2 separate regions of the Homo sapiens genome follow, and region 1 is linked to region 2. Evidence: promoter capture Hi-C in 16 types of primary human blood cells and fetal thymus (Javierre and others, 2016). All regions are on one chromosome and are shown on one strand. Each heading gives the region's core, a stretch centred on a gene start or on the middle of the fragment in contact. The rest is flanking DNA. Distances are from core to core; before and after follow the strand shown.

What was found. The method cuts DNA at HindIII sites, captures the fragments that hold promoters and counts their contacts. A CHiCAGO score of 5 or more calls a contact.
Region 1: a contact is called between a fragment that was not itself captured here and the fragment with the promoter of IL6ST in region 2, in 7 of 17 cell types (activated CD4 T cells, total CD4 T cells, naive CD4 T cells and 4 more). The highest score is 8.2, in activated CD4 T cells.

What each region holds. Positions count from the first base shown.
Region 1 is chr5:56,181,759-56,187,398 of GRCh38, forward strand. ANKRD55 (ankyrin repeat domain 55) reads right to left here. Exons shown (of 12, transcript NM_024669.3): 3 at 1,754-1,876. Among named protein-coding and RNA genes, the nearest start is that of ANKRD55, 49 kb to the right of the region's middle. The HindIII fragment of the contact is 8,871 bases long and covers 1-5,640 here.
Region 2 is chr5:55,992,353-55,998,596 of GRCh38, forward strand. IL6ST (interleukin 6 cytokine family signal transducer) reads right to left here and starts at 2,611. Exons shown (of 17, transcript NM_002184.4): 1 at 2,432-2,611. It overlaps IL6ST-DT (IL6ST divergent transcript), which reads left to right and starts at 2,815. Exons shown (of 2, transcript NR_102755.1): 1 at 2,815-3,202. RefSeq lists cis regulatory regions at 1,379-3,697, 2,391-3,064, a silencer at 2,342-2,821 and an enhancer at 2,653-3,164. The HindIII fragment of the contact is 8,053 bases long and covers 1-5,324 here.

The DNA.
Region 1 (5,640 bases), core at 2,870-5,369, 190 kb after region 2:
TTTGTATTTTTAGTAGAGACGGGGTTTCACCGTGTTGGCCAGGCCGGTCTTGACCTCAAGTCCTGATCTCAAGTGATCTGCTTGCCTCGGCCTCCCGAAGTGTTGGGATTATAGGCGTGAGCCACCGTGTCCGGCCTATTTCTGTATATTACTGAATTCTATTTGCTAATATTTGGTTAAGGATTTTTAAATCTACATTCATGAAGACCACTGGTCTATAGGCTTATTTTTTTTTTACATCGTCTTTGGTTTTGATAGTGAAGTAATACTAGCTCATAAACATAACTGAAACGTGTTTTCTCATCTCTTCTTTTTGGAAGAGATTATGTGGAATCGATGCTGGTTATTCTTTAAAAGTTTGTAGAAATCTGCCAGGTGAGGTGGCTCATATCTATAATCTTAGCACTTTGGGAGGCCAAGGTGGGAGGATCACAAATCTCTGGTGAAATAATCTAGTCCTGGAGATATCTTTTTCGGGGGGGATTTTAAAATTATGAAGTCAATTTCCTAATTATAGGGCTCTTCAGATTACCTATTTCTTATTGGCTATTTCTTACTGTTCTGTTTTCAAGTTCATTACTTCTTTCCTTTGCATCCTCATTCTGCTGCTGAGCTTATTCACTGAGTTTTACCATTGTGATGATTGTATTTTTGATTTTTAAAAATTCTCATTTGGTTTTTCCTTATGTCTTTTATTTCTTTGCTGAGACTTTCTATTTTTTTCTTTAGTTTTAAGCATGTTTTCAATTGCTCATTGAAGCATTTTTGTCACGGTTATTTTAAAATCTTTGTGAGATAATTCTAACATCTCTTTCATTGGCATCTGTTGATTATTTTTTCATTCAGTTTGGGATCTTCCTGTTTCTTGGTATGACGAGTGATTTTTGATTGAAACTTGGACTTTTGGGGTATTATATTATGAGATTCCTGATCTTAAACCTTTTATTTTAGCTGGCTTCCATGGGCACTGCTGTAAAGGGGAAGTAAAGGGGTGCCACCTCATTATTGCAAGGTGGCATTAGAAATCCAGGTTTCCTACTCAGTCTTTGCTGGAACGAGTGGGGCTGGAGCCCCATGGCTTTTTGTGGTGTTTGGCTGGAGTAGGGACTTATTGTCTAAAAAGTGTTCTGTCTTTCTAGGCTGTTTCTTTCCTGGTCCTTTTGCCAGAGAGAGAAGGCTTTTGTTGTTTTTCTTGCTGTTTGGTCTGTGCCTGTTGACATTTCTGGGTTGCCAGCTTCTTCAGCATCAGCTCTGGGAGAGACAAGGCAAGAAGAAAACCCTGGGCACTTACACCATGTCATTCCTTGAGTCAGAAGATCTCAGCTCATCTGTCATTTTATCTTCATCTTCCAGAGTCTTTTTATGTTTACATATAACGTCCAGGGTTTTTAGTTGCATTTAGCAGAAATAATACCAAAGAAATGCATCTACTCCATCTTCCCAGAAGCAGAAATCCTTGCTCTTTGCCTTTTACAGTTACATTTTCTCAACATCCATTGCTACCAAAAGTAGCCTGCTCTTTCCGTACCTTTTCCTAACTACTTGACCTATCTATTTTGGTCATTCATACAAAGATATTGAAAACAAACTCAAACTGATGACTTCATTATAAGAGGCGATGTGGTACCTGCACATAGGCACAGTATCAAAATGGCTGGTCAGATATACATTTATTAACATTGCTCATGTCTGAAGGCCATCTCTAAAAAAATAGAGCAGAACATTCTGGATTCAAAATGCATACATATCTCACCTTCACTGTCACAGCATTCTAGGATAGAAGGGTCTTCCCGAATCACTGCAGTCAGAGCATTGACATCTCCATTAGAGGCTGCTTGATAAACCATGGTCAGGTCAACTTCCTCAGATGAGTCACCTTCATGCATAAAACAGACACAATGTTAGTGTGTGGAGCCAGTTCACTGAAAGAATAACAATACCCAAGTCGTCACCCACACAAGTGATTCATTAAAACTTCTCAAGTGAATCCAGGCAGAAGTCTGGGTCATCCTGGCTACACACTCCCTCACCACTTCTGAAGAAAGGTGGATCACTCATGCCATTTGTAACACCGCCGTGTATTGGAAAGGAACCTGAGGGATTGGATGTCATTTGAGATTTTCTGATTATTTCCAGGCATTCAGGCTTCTCGAAGCCAGGGAGCCCAGAGAGGAAAGTGGGAAGTGGGGCCCTCATCTTGGTTCTGCATTGCCCTTTTTGATCTGGAACATGTTCCTTGTCCTCCCAATAACTCAGTTTACTACCTTTCAAAGAGACATTGTGCTCTCCATTCTCCGTTCTCCAGATGTGGAGGGTGAGGCAGCCTTTCCCACCCTATTCTGTACCCTGAGGACTGACCCTTGCCGAGTGCTCCACCCAGGCTCCCTCACCCTTTTGCTTGCCCATGAGAGGCACGGGCAGGAGCCTGATGGGGAGAAGAGAGAGATGGGACATTTCTTCCTGCCTTCCCCTAGTGCCGTGTTCGGCAGGAGCCACTTCTCTCCCAACAGGAGGCTCTTTCTTGGCAGAGCCAGTCTCTTCCTCTGCAGAGTCAGTCTCTCTGGGTTCCCTGATAAAATGGTCCCCTCCCATCCTTCTTAGCTGTAAGGATGGGATTGGCTTCCCACTGATGTTAGTCTGTGGAGCTTCAGCATCCCTAGTTCATTCTTTCAGCCCTGCGTCATCTCTGCAAGCTGTCCCTTCATGAAAGTCTCTTCATTTCAACCACCTGAGATTTCATGAGAGGGCATTCCCAGAAGAAACAGAACTGTAGGCAACTCCTTTGAATTTGGTAGCCACCTGCATTATGCCTTGTGCATGCCTGAACCAACTAATAGCATGGTCAAAGGCAACATCAGGCCAGGCATGATGGCTCAGATCTGTAATCTCAGCACTTTGGGAGGCTGAGGTGGGAGGATGGCTTGAGCCCAGGAGTTCGAGATCAGCCTGGGCAACACAGTGAGACCCTCTCTCTACAAAAAATTTAAAAATTAGCTGGGCATTGTGGTGGGTACCTGTAGTCCCAGGTACTCAGGAGGCCGAGGCAGGAGGATTGCTTGAGCCCCAGAGTTCAAGCAGTGAGCTATGATTGTGCCACTATACTCCAGCCTGGACAACAGAGTGAGACCTTGTCTTAAAAAAAAAAAAAGAAAGGCGACAACAGAACTATGGGTCAAGTGGGGCTGGGTGCAGTGGCTCATGCCTGTAATCCCAGCACTGTGCGAGGCCGAGGCGGGCGGATCACTTGAGGTCAGGAGTTCAAGACCAGCCTGGCCAATGTGGAGAAACCCAGTCTCTACTAAAAATACAAAAAAATAAGCCAGGTGTGGTGGCATGTGCCTGTAATCCCAGCTACTTGGGAGGCTGAGGCAGGATAATTGCTTGAACCCGGGAGGCAGAGGGTGCAGTGAGCCGAGATTGCACCACTGCACTCTAGCCTGGGCGACAGAGCGAGACTCTGTCTCAAAACAAAACAACAACAACAAAAGAACTGTGGGTCAAGTGGAGAACGGGGAGGACTGGGAGGTGAGTTCTGCTCAAGAGGAGGCCTCCAGGGAGAGGCTGTGTTGATCAACTCACACCGTTCCTCCCATGCACGCCTCCTCTGCCCCTCAAGCATAGCCACTGTTCAGGTGTGGTGGCTCACGCCTGTAATCGCAGCACTTTGGGAGGCTGAGGTGGGTGGATCACCTGAGGTCAGGAGTTTGAGACCAGCCTAACCAACATGGAGAAACTCCGTCTCTACTAAAAATACAAAAAATTAGCTGGGCCTGGTGGTGCATGCCTGTAATTCCAGCTACTCGGGAGGCTGGGGCAGGAGAATTGCTTGAACCCGGGAGGTGGAGGTTGCGGTGAGCCCAGATGGCGCCATTGCACTCCAGCCTGGGCAACAAGAGTGAAACTCCATCTCAAAAAAAAAAAAAGTAAAAAAAGAGAAAAAGGTTTTTTTAAGTTGTGTTTTTCTGCTAATGTGGATATTATGTCAAAGATACTTTTTAGTTTTCAGTTCGAATTGATCTTTCGTTGGCAGTGGTCCTAACCCTTTGCCTCGGTTTCTCTGTCCCAGTATTTTTGGGAAGTCATAAGTGCCGGTTGACCTGTCTGTCCCCAAAGGAACTTGTTATTGGAAATGATTCACTTATGACAACAAACTGTTTTGTAAAGTGAGTAGTTGTTCCCTAACTTACTCACAGTAGTATTTTGTTGTTTTCGTTTGTTTGTTTTAGTCAGACTCACTTGCACATTTGCCTGGGGGCCAGAAGTGAAAGAGGAGGGGTGTCCAGGTCAAATGCCACTCCTGTGATGAGCGCAAGGACTATGGAGGCAGACAACCTCAGTATCAGCTTGCACTGACCAGCTGTGTGGATTTGGACCGTCCCCTCTCCAGGCCTTAGTTTCCTTGTTTTTGTTTGTTTGTTTGTTTATTTGAGACAGGGTCTCGTTGGGTCACCCATGCTGGAGTGCAGTGGCGTGATCTTGGCTCACTGCAGCCTTGACCTCCCAGGCCCAAGTGATCCACCCATCTCAGCCTCCTGAGTAGCTGGGACTACAGACATGCACCACCACGCCCAGCTAATTTTTGTATTTTTTGTAGAGATGGGGTTTTGCCATGTTGCCCAGGCTGGTCTCTAATGATCCTCCCATGTTGGCTTCCCAAAGTGCTGTGATTTATAGGCGTAAGCCACTGTTCCTGGCCAGTTTCTTTGTCTTTAAAATGAAGGTAATAATGATGATAATTAGGATAACTACCTACCTCTCTTATAAGTTTGTTGTGAGGAAAAAAATGAATTAATATTTAATTCTGTGTGCTTTTAGAACAAGGCCTGGCATATAATAGTGTATATATTTGCTGTGACTACTGCTACTTAAAAAATTTTTTTTTGGTGCGTTTAGAAAGCATTAGAAATCTGGGACATGTAGAGAAAATAGTCTCTTGTTGATGATGATTAGACAAAAAGTCCATACATTGCACAGAACATTAGTCCCCATTAGGAACCTTCCTAGGACTCTAGACATTTTGTTAAGATTTCTCACAGTATATTTGGGCACAAGAAATAGGGCCCAGAAACAGGACAAAGATGGAGCTGGTATCTGGTTGTGTGACCACATCCAAAGATGCTGGTGGTATCACTTCAGGAGGAAGATCCTGGTGGTGGGCTGAGGAGCTCTGTGTTTAACAGCCTGTTCATATGTTATATAATGTGCCTATATAACAGACATAAATGTATTCACAATCCGTTCATCACTGAGTGCAATAAAATATGCAAGGCACATTCATCACACTGTGGACCACATACAGCTGAGAGAAACAATGAATGCATTGCCTGATAGAATTATGATCCCCAAAATATCTTGCCAGAAATCTAATTAGATAGTATTTAATAGAGCTAAAGGTAGAGTAACATATTGAAAGACAGGACCAGCTGGATGTCCTAGGCTGACTAAGAATCCCTAAGCCTAGCTGGGAAGGTGACTGCATCCACCTTTAAACACAGGGCTTGCAACTTAGCTCACACCCGACCAATCAGGTAGTAAAGAGAGCTCACTAAAACGCTCATTAGGCAAAAACAGGAGGTAAAGAAATAGCCAATCATCTATTGTCTGAGAGCACAGCGGGAGGGACAATGACCGGGATTTAAA
Region 2 (6,244 bases), core at 1,361-3,860:
ATGGTTAAGAGGTCAGATTCTGAAGCCAGGCTGTCTATGTATGACCTTTAGATCTACCACTTAGCTGGGCAAATTAATTAACCTTCTTGTGCCTGGGTTTCCCTATGTGTAAAAAGAGGATTTTATCCTATTATTATTAGACCTACTTCATAATATTATGAAGATTAAATGCCTTAATATGGGCAAAGTGCTCAAAACAGCAACTGGCACAACATAAGCACTAAATATATTGCCTGTTTTAATTAATAGACCTTAGTTACTGCTGATCCTTTCCACAAGCTAGTCCTATATTATGTTCTATATTCTCCATTCTACATTTTGTCCTCCATTCGCTATTATTAATGGGCTGTCTTCATTTTTCCCTTTATCCAAATCCTACCCAGGTTTCAAGGCCAACTTCTGGTAAATCCTTTGCTCATTCCAATCCTTAAATGCTCACTCCAATCCTTAAACGATCATTCCCTAATTTTAATATCTACAGGATTTTCTGCATCACTCTGCATTTAATTAAAACTGCTTTGCATCCTTGTAGTTTTTTTCGTATAAGTTTGTCAATCCAATTATTATAAACTCTTTGAAGGTCCTGATTACATCTCCTGCACCTTTGTGAGTTCGTACAGCAGGTAGTAATTGCTTAGTATTTGCTGTGTAAAATAATAAAGCACAATAGGAACCTCAACTCTGATCATTCTGCCTTTGCAATCAAAGAAACGGAGAAGCTGTGAGAACATTCCATGCTTCTCTAGGAGCCAAGCTGCAAATGTATTAGGGCCAGAGAATTCTGACTCCCATTAAAATGAGCAGCTCTGAAAGGAGGGAGCGGGGAATCCCTCCCTGCCACTGTAGAGGATTTATGGGTTGCCCTTAAGTTCCCAAACCAAATTGTGGCACTGGGGTTTTTATGAGAAACGTGTCAACATGACAAAATGATTCAGAGCACAGGATTTGGAGTCACACAGATCTAGTTTTCAGCGAGACTCCTGTTTCCTTCTCTATAAAGGGGACATTTTAACACCTACTTCACATGTATTTAACTTTCGCCCTAACACTGAACTGAAGTGCAAAGCCTTGGAAACAAATTTAAATAAATTGAAAATACTGCAATTCACAAATAAGAGTGAGAACAACATTTTTAGTTACGTAAGACTATATTATATTAAATTAGGTGGCAGCAGTATTTATAATAATCTAAATTGCCTGTGAGAAAATTAAACTGGTATTGTCAATACATACTTAAAATAAGAAAAAAATCCCACTACAGTCTGTCCTTTTTGACACTTTCTCCTTCCTGTAATTTTTTTCTTTCACTCAAGATTAAAAACAAACGTTCAAGATTATCCCTAAAGAGAAATAGTTGGAAAGCACAATTTAATAGCAAGTTGGTTCTATAAATGTAATATTTCAGTTCATAGTTCAAAAATACTTCCAAATAGGAATTAACATGAATTTAAGAAATTAACATAATGGCACACAGCTAAACTGATGATCTGAGTCCGTAATTTCAAATTAAGAGTTGTTCCAACTTGAAGCTGGCAGTCATACACAGTTTAAAGGGTTTGTTTACAGCACTGTCAAAAGCAAATACCACAATCTTTCAGAAAATTCACCCTGGCATTCTAATAACTAGTTATTTTAAGGCAGTATAATTGTTGAAATACTTCACAAACTAAGCCAAAATGCGTTTCCTTCTGAAGGCAAAAAAAAAAAAAAAAAAAAAAGGTGACGTCTTATTTTTAACCTGTGATTTTTTTTTTTTTTCAGTTTCGGATTATGAAATAAAATGCTGTTCATCCACTGAAGAACAGACCCTTGCTTCCTGCACTATCTTCAAAAGTTTAGGTCGGAGGAGGTAAAATTTTAAAAACTGATTTGTTCTCCTTGGGATACAGTGAGATGTGGAATTCGTTAGGAATGATAATTATTAATAGAAAAGATCAAAAGAAGGAAAGAAACGTTAATAGTGTTTATAAGCATTGTGAACTTTCAACAAAGCTGAAACGTTACGATTTCAAGATGAAAAAACGGCTTTGGGGAAGGGAAATCCACCTCGAGAATGAAGACAAGTGCGGAGCGAATAGAATTTCAGGGGAGATGAAAAGGGGATTGGGAAAAACGTGGGATCTGGTAACAAAAAGGGGGGTTTGTTCTTGAAGGGCGTTCTGCGGGGCGGGCGTTAAGAGGGGTGCGTGCGTGCGCCTGGGTGAAGTTTGTACTCAGGGCTGCGATAATCGAGGTGACAAAGTTGTGGAAGTAGAATTCGGAGGTCCGGGAGCAGGAAGGGGAAGGAATGTGGGGATTTCCAGGCTGGGCTGACAAGTTCCGGGCGCTGCTCTCAGGGGGAAGGGAGGTCTCCTCGAGTGCCAGATAGCCCGTCCGAAACCACCGACACTCTAACTCCAGCTACGCGACCCAGCACCCGGCCCCTCCTCACCTCAGGCCGCGCCGCCTCGACCCTCCGCGTCTCCACAGCGCACGAACCCCTTGGCGCCAGGCTGGGCCAGACCCGTCGGCCTGGCAGGCGCGGCCCCCGGTTCAGCTGCGCCGGGGCGGCCCAGCGCGACTCCGCGGGCCTTTTGGCTGCTCGCCCCGGCTCCGGAACACTGTCAGATCCTTCTCCGCAGAGGTAGCGCGCCACCCCAGTCCCGCGGCGGGGCGGGGCGCTCCCCAATCCCGCCCAGCTGCGCCCCCGGCCGGCCAACGCTGCGCCCCGCCCCCTACCGGGACCTAGGCGCTGATTGGCCCCTGAGAGACCCTTTGCGCCCAGGCATTGGTCCAGTGGCCGCCTGTCGACGAGGGGGCGGGACTCCGAGGGGTAGCGATTCCCGTAACGCGGCTCTTCGCGTCCCGGATTCCGGTGGCTGCGTCCGCGTCGCCTCTCCCAGACTAGATCGAAGGGTTCCCCCCACCTCCCCTCTGTGGGCGGAAAGAGCGGAATGTTCCATTTTTCTGTGGAATAACGGGGTCATGAACTGGAGCCCGGGTGCTGCCCGCCGCCCGCTGCCCCCGCCCTCCCTTCTCGCCAGGGCGCCTGCGGCCTCTCTTCGCGGCCTTCCCCGAGGGACTCAGAGCCGCGAGGGACCGCCTAGCTCCCTTGGGGATGGGGAAGGCGTGGGAGCCTCTTGGGGAAAGTGAAGAGCTCGGTGGCCGTGACTCCGCACGAGACTGCGGCAGATTGTGGCGGCGGCTTCTCTCCAAGACTTACGTAAACGAGCCTTGCCACAGTACTTTTTTAAATTAGTAAATGAGTTTGGGTGCGATTGATCAGTGAGCCCCAGAGGTGGTGGCCCACCAAGCGACTAGTGTTTCTTTGCGGTTTGTACCTCCCCGTTTATGATAAAAAATACCGGGTAAAAACCTATTCATCCCGCCTCCGCCCCCCCCTTTCCCTCAGAAAATGGACCTCAAGGCTCATGATGTTTGTTTCTCCCCAAAGGAAGATGAGAATCTTGAGTTAAAAGATAAGGCATGTGCGTGCGTGCGTGTGGGGTGTGTGCGTGGGTGTCTGTAAAAGTAAACACCCAAAGGTAGAGGTTTTTGTGGAAGAATGAGAGGATATAGGAAGGAAATAATGGTTTAATGAACTTAAATTATATCCATAAATTAACAATTATAAAGTTCTTCATTATATTGAGGATTCAGATAGAGTAAAACATAGATCGAATTTTAATCTCTTAGTTGTTGATCAGATAATTTATAAAAGGGCAAAGTGGGCCTGCTAACGGAGTCGCAGGCAAAGTAGATGGTGCTGCAGCTGATGTGTTCAGCTCTTGCTCCTCCCTGTCATCCTATATCTAACCTATAGATTGTGACCAGATTCTGTTCTAGCTTTGCCATTTAGAGGGGTGTTTATTTTAAAACAAATTTTTATAAAAATTTGTTAAATTGAAAATTTTGTATAGATCCAGGAAACTTGATTTTTTTGTTGTTGTTCACAGTCTCACTCTGTCACCCAGGCTGGAGTGCAGTGGCTGGATCATGCTCACCGCACGTTCAAATTCCTGGGCTCTAGCGATCCTCCCACCTCAACCTCCCAAGTATCTCAGACTACAGGTGCCCCTACAATACCTGGCCAATTTTTAAAATTTTTGGAGAGACAAGATTTTGGTATGCTGACCCGGCTGGTCTTGAACTGCTGGCAACAAACGATCCTCCGGCCTTAGTGGCCTCCCAAAGTGCTGAGATAACAGGTGTGATGCAAAGATGTATTTAGGGGAGATGTATAGTGGTTAAATGTACCCTCTGGTTCTAGATTGCCTAGGTTTAAATGCTGATGCCTCTATTTCTCATCTCTGTGACCTTGGGCAAGTCTTTTCAAATTTCTTCATCTGCAAAATGAGAATAACAATACCAACCTAACAGGATTGTTGCAAGGATTAAATGAGTTAAAATACATACAGTGTTTGGCACATAGTAGGTGCTCTGTAAGTATCAGCTATAATCATTATTGAATGTCTACTCGGTCAACACTTCTGAAATATTTTAGTATCACAACATATATTAAAAATGATGATATTTTGCTGGACGGGGAAGGGCAGGTACACAGAAGTGGATTGATATGTCACAACACACCAGCCTGCCTTGGCACCATTAGGAAAACAAATGACTGAGTTAGTGCTTTTATGGGTGTCTTTTTATTGGCTCAGCTCAGGTCCTGCTCCCAAGAAACTCACATTTTATGGGAGTAGTTAAAGTCTGAGGCCAAAAGGATGAATCAATATTGGAGAAGTATTTTTCAGAGCAACAGGACGGAAGACCTCTGCTGTGCTGGAATTACATGACTTTGCAGATACCTCTGTAGAGTATTGGCCTTGAAATTACGAATTTCAGATTAAGGATTTGTTACTAGAAAGCCTTGTCAAAATGCAAAGGTAAGTAGGGGAAAGTAGTATATTAATGGAGAACTCTCCATTTGTGTCCTGTGACCATTTGAGATTTTAGATATGTCAAGAGCAGGCCGGGTGCAGTGGCTCACACCTGTAATCCCAGCATTTTGGGAGGCTGAGGCAGGCGGATCACTTGAGGCCAGGAATTCAAGACCAGCCTGGTGAAACCCCAACTCTATTAAAAATACAAAGATTAGCCAGGCATGGTGGTGGGTGCCTGTAATCCCAGTTACTTGGGAGGCTGAGGCACGAGAATCACTTGAACCCAGGAGGCAGAGGTTGCAGTGAGCTGAGATCCTGCCACTGCACTCCAGCCTGGGTGACAGAGCAAAACTCCTTCTCAAAAAAAAAAAAAAAAAAAAAAAGAGATTGAGGAAACTGTACAGTGAGAAAGTAACATGAAGGCACCAAAATTACAATTACTTGGGAGTAAGTGAGCAAAGCTTAGGAAATTGTGCCATGGAACAAAGGTGATAAATGTCAAAGACAAACTTTGCCTGCATTTCTAATTCCCTAAATCTGGTGCTGACTAGGATATCCCTTTACTTCCTTGTCTGTGCCCAGTTATGTTTCTGAAATTCTGTGTCAGCCCTGGAATTATCCTCATGTTCTGTATCACCTTAATGATTTCAGCATCCATGTTCATGACTCATTAGCACTCTGACCTCACAATTTCTCATCGTTTTCTTTTCCAATCATCTTCAACTTCACTCTGTATCAGCAACCCACAGATGGAGCCACACCTTCAACCTAGTCATCAATGAAATTACTTCCCCTCCAAAATGCTGGATTGTGAGTTTCCCTCTCTGTACCTACAGCCACCTACCCCCATCTATCTCTATTCTGTGGTCATTCCCATTGAATCTGTAATTTGTCCTCAATGTGACAGCCTGACAGCCAGTCTTTCTTCTCATAGTTTATCAGCTGTTTCCTATCATTTTTTATCTTACTTACCAGTAAGAACCCCCTTTTTTTTTTTGAGACGGAGTTTTGCTGTTGTTGTCCAGGCTGGGGTGCAATGGCACGATCTTGGCTCACCGCAACCTCCGCCTCCCTGGTTCAAGTGATTCTCCTGCCTCAGCCTCCCAAGTAGCTGAGATTACAGGTGCTCACCACCATGCCTGGCTAATTTTTTGTACTTTTAGTACAGACGGGGTTTCACCAAGTTGGCCAGGCTGATCTCAACTCCTAAAAGTGATGGGATTACAGGGGTGAGCCACCGCCCCCCAAGAACCCTTTTATCAACCATTTTAACTGCACTATTCTCTTCAGTTCCCTTGACCTTCAGCTATGTTTACCTTATCAGGCTATTTCCTAACTATTTCCTTTTTCCTTGAGCTATCAGCCCCACCGTAACATTT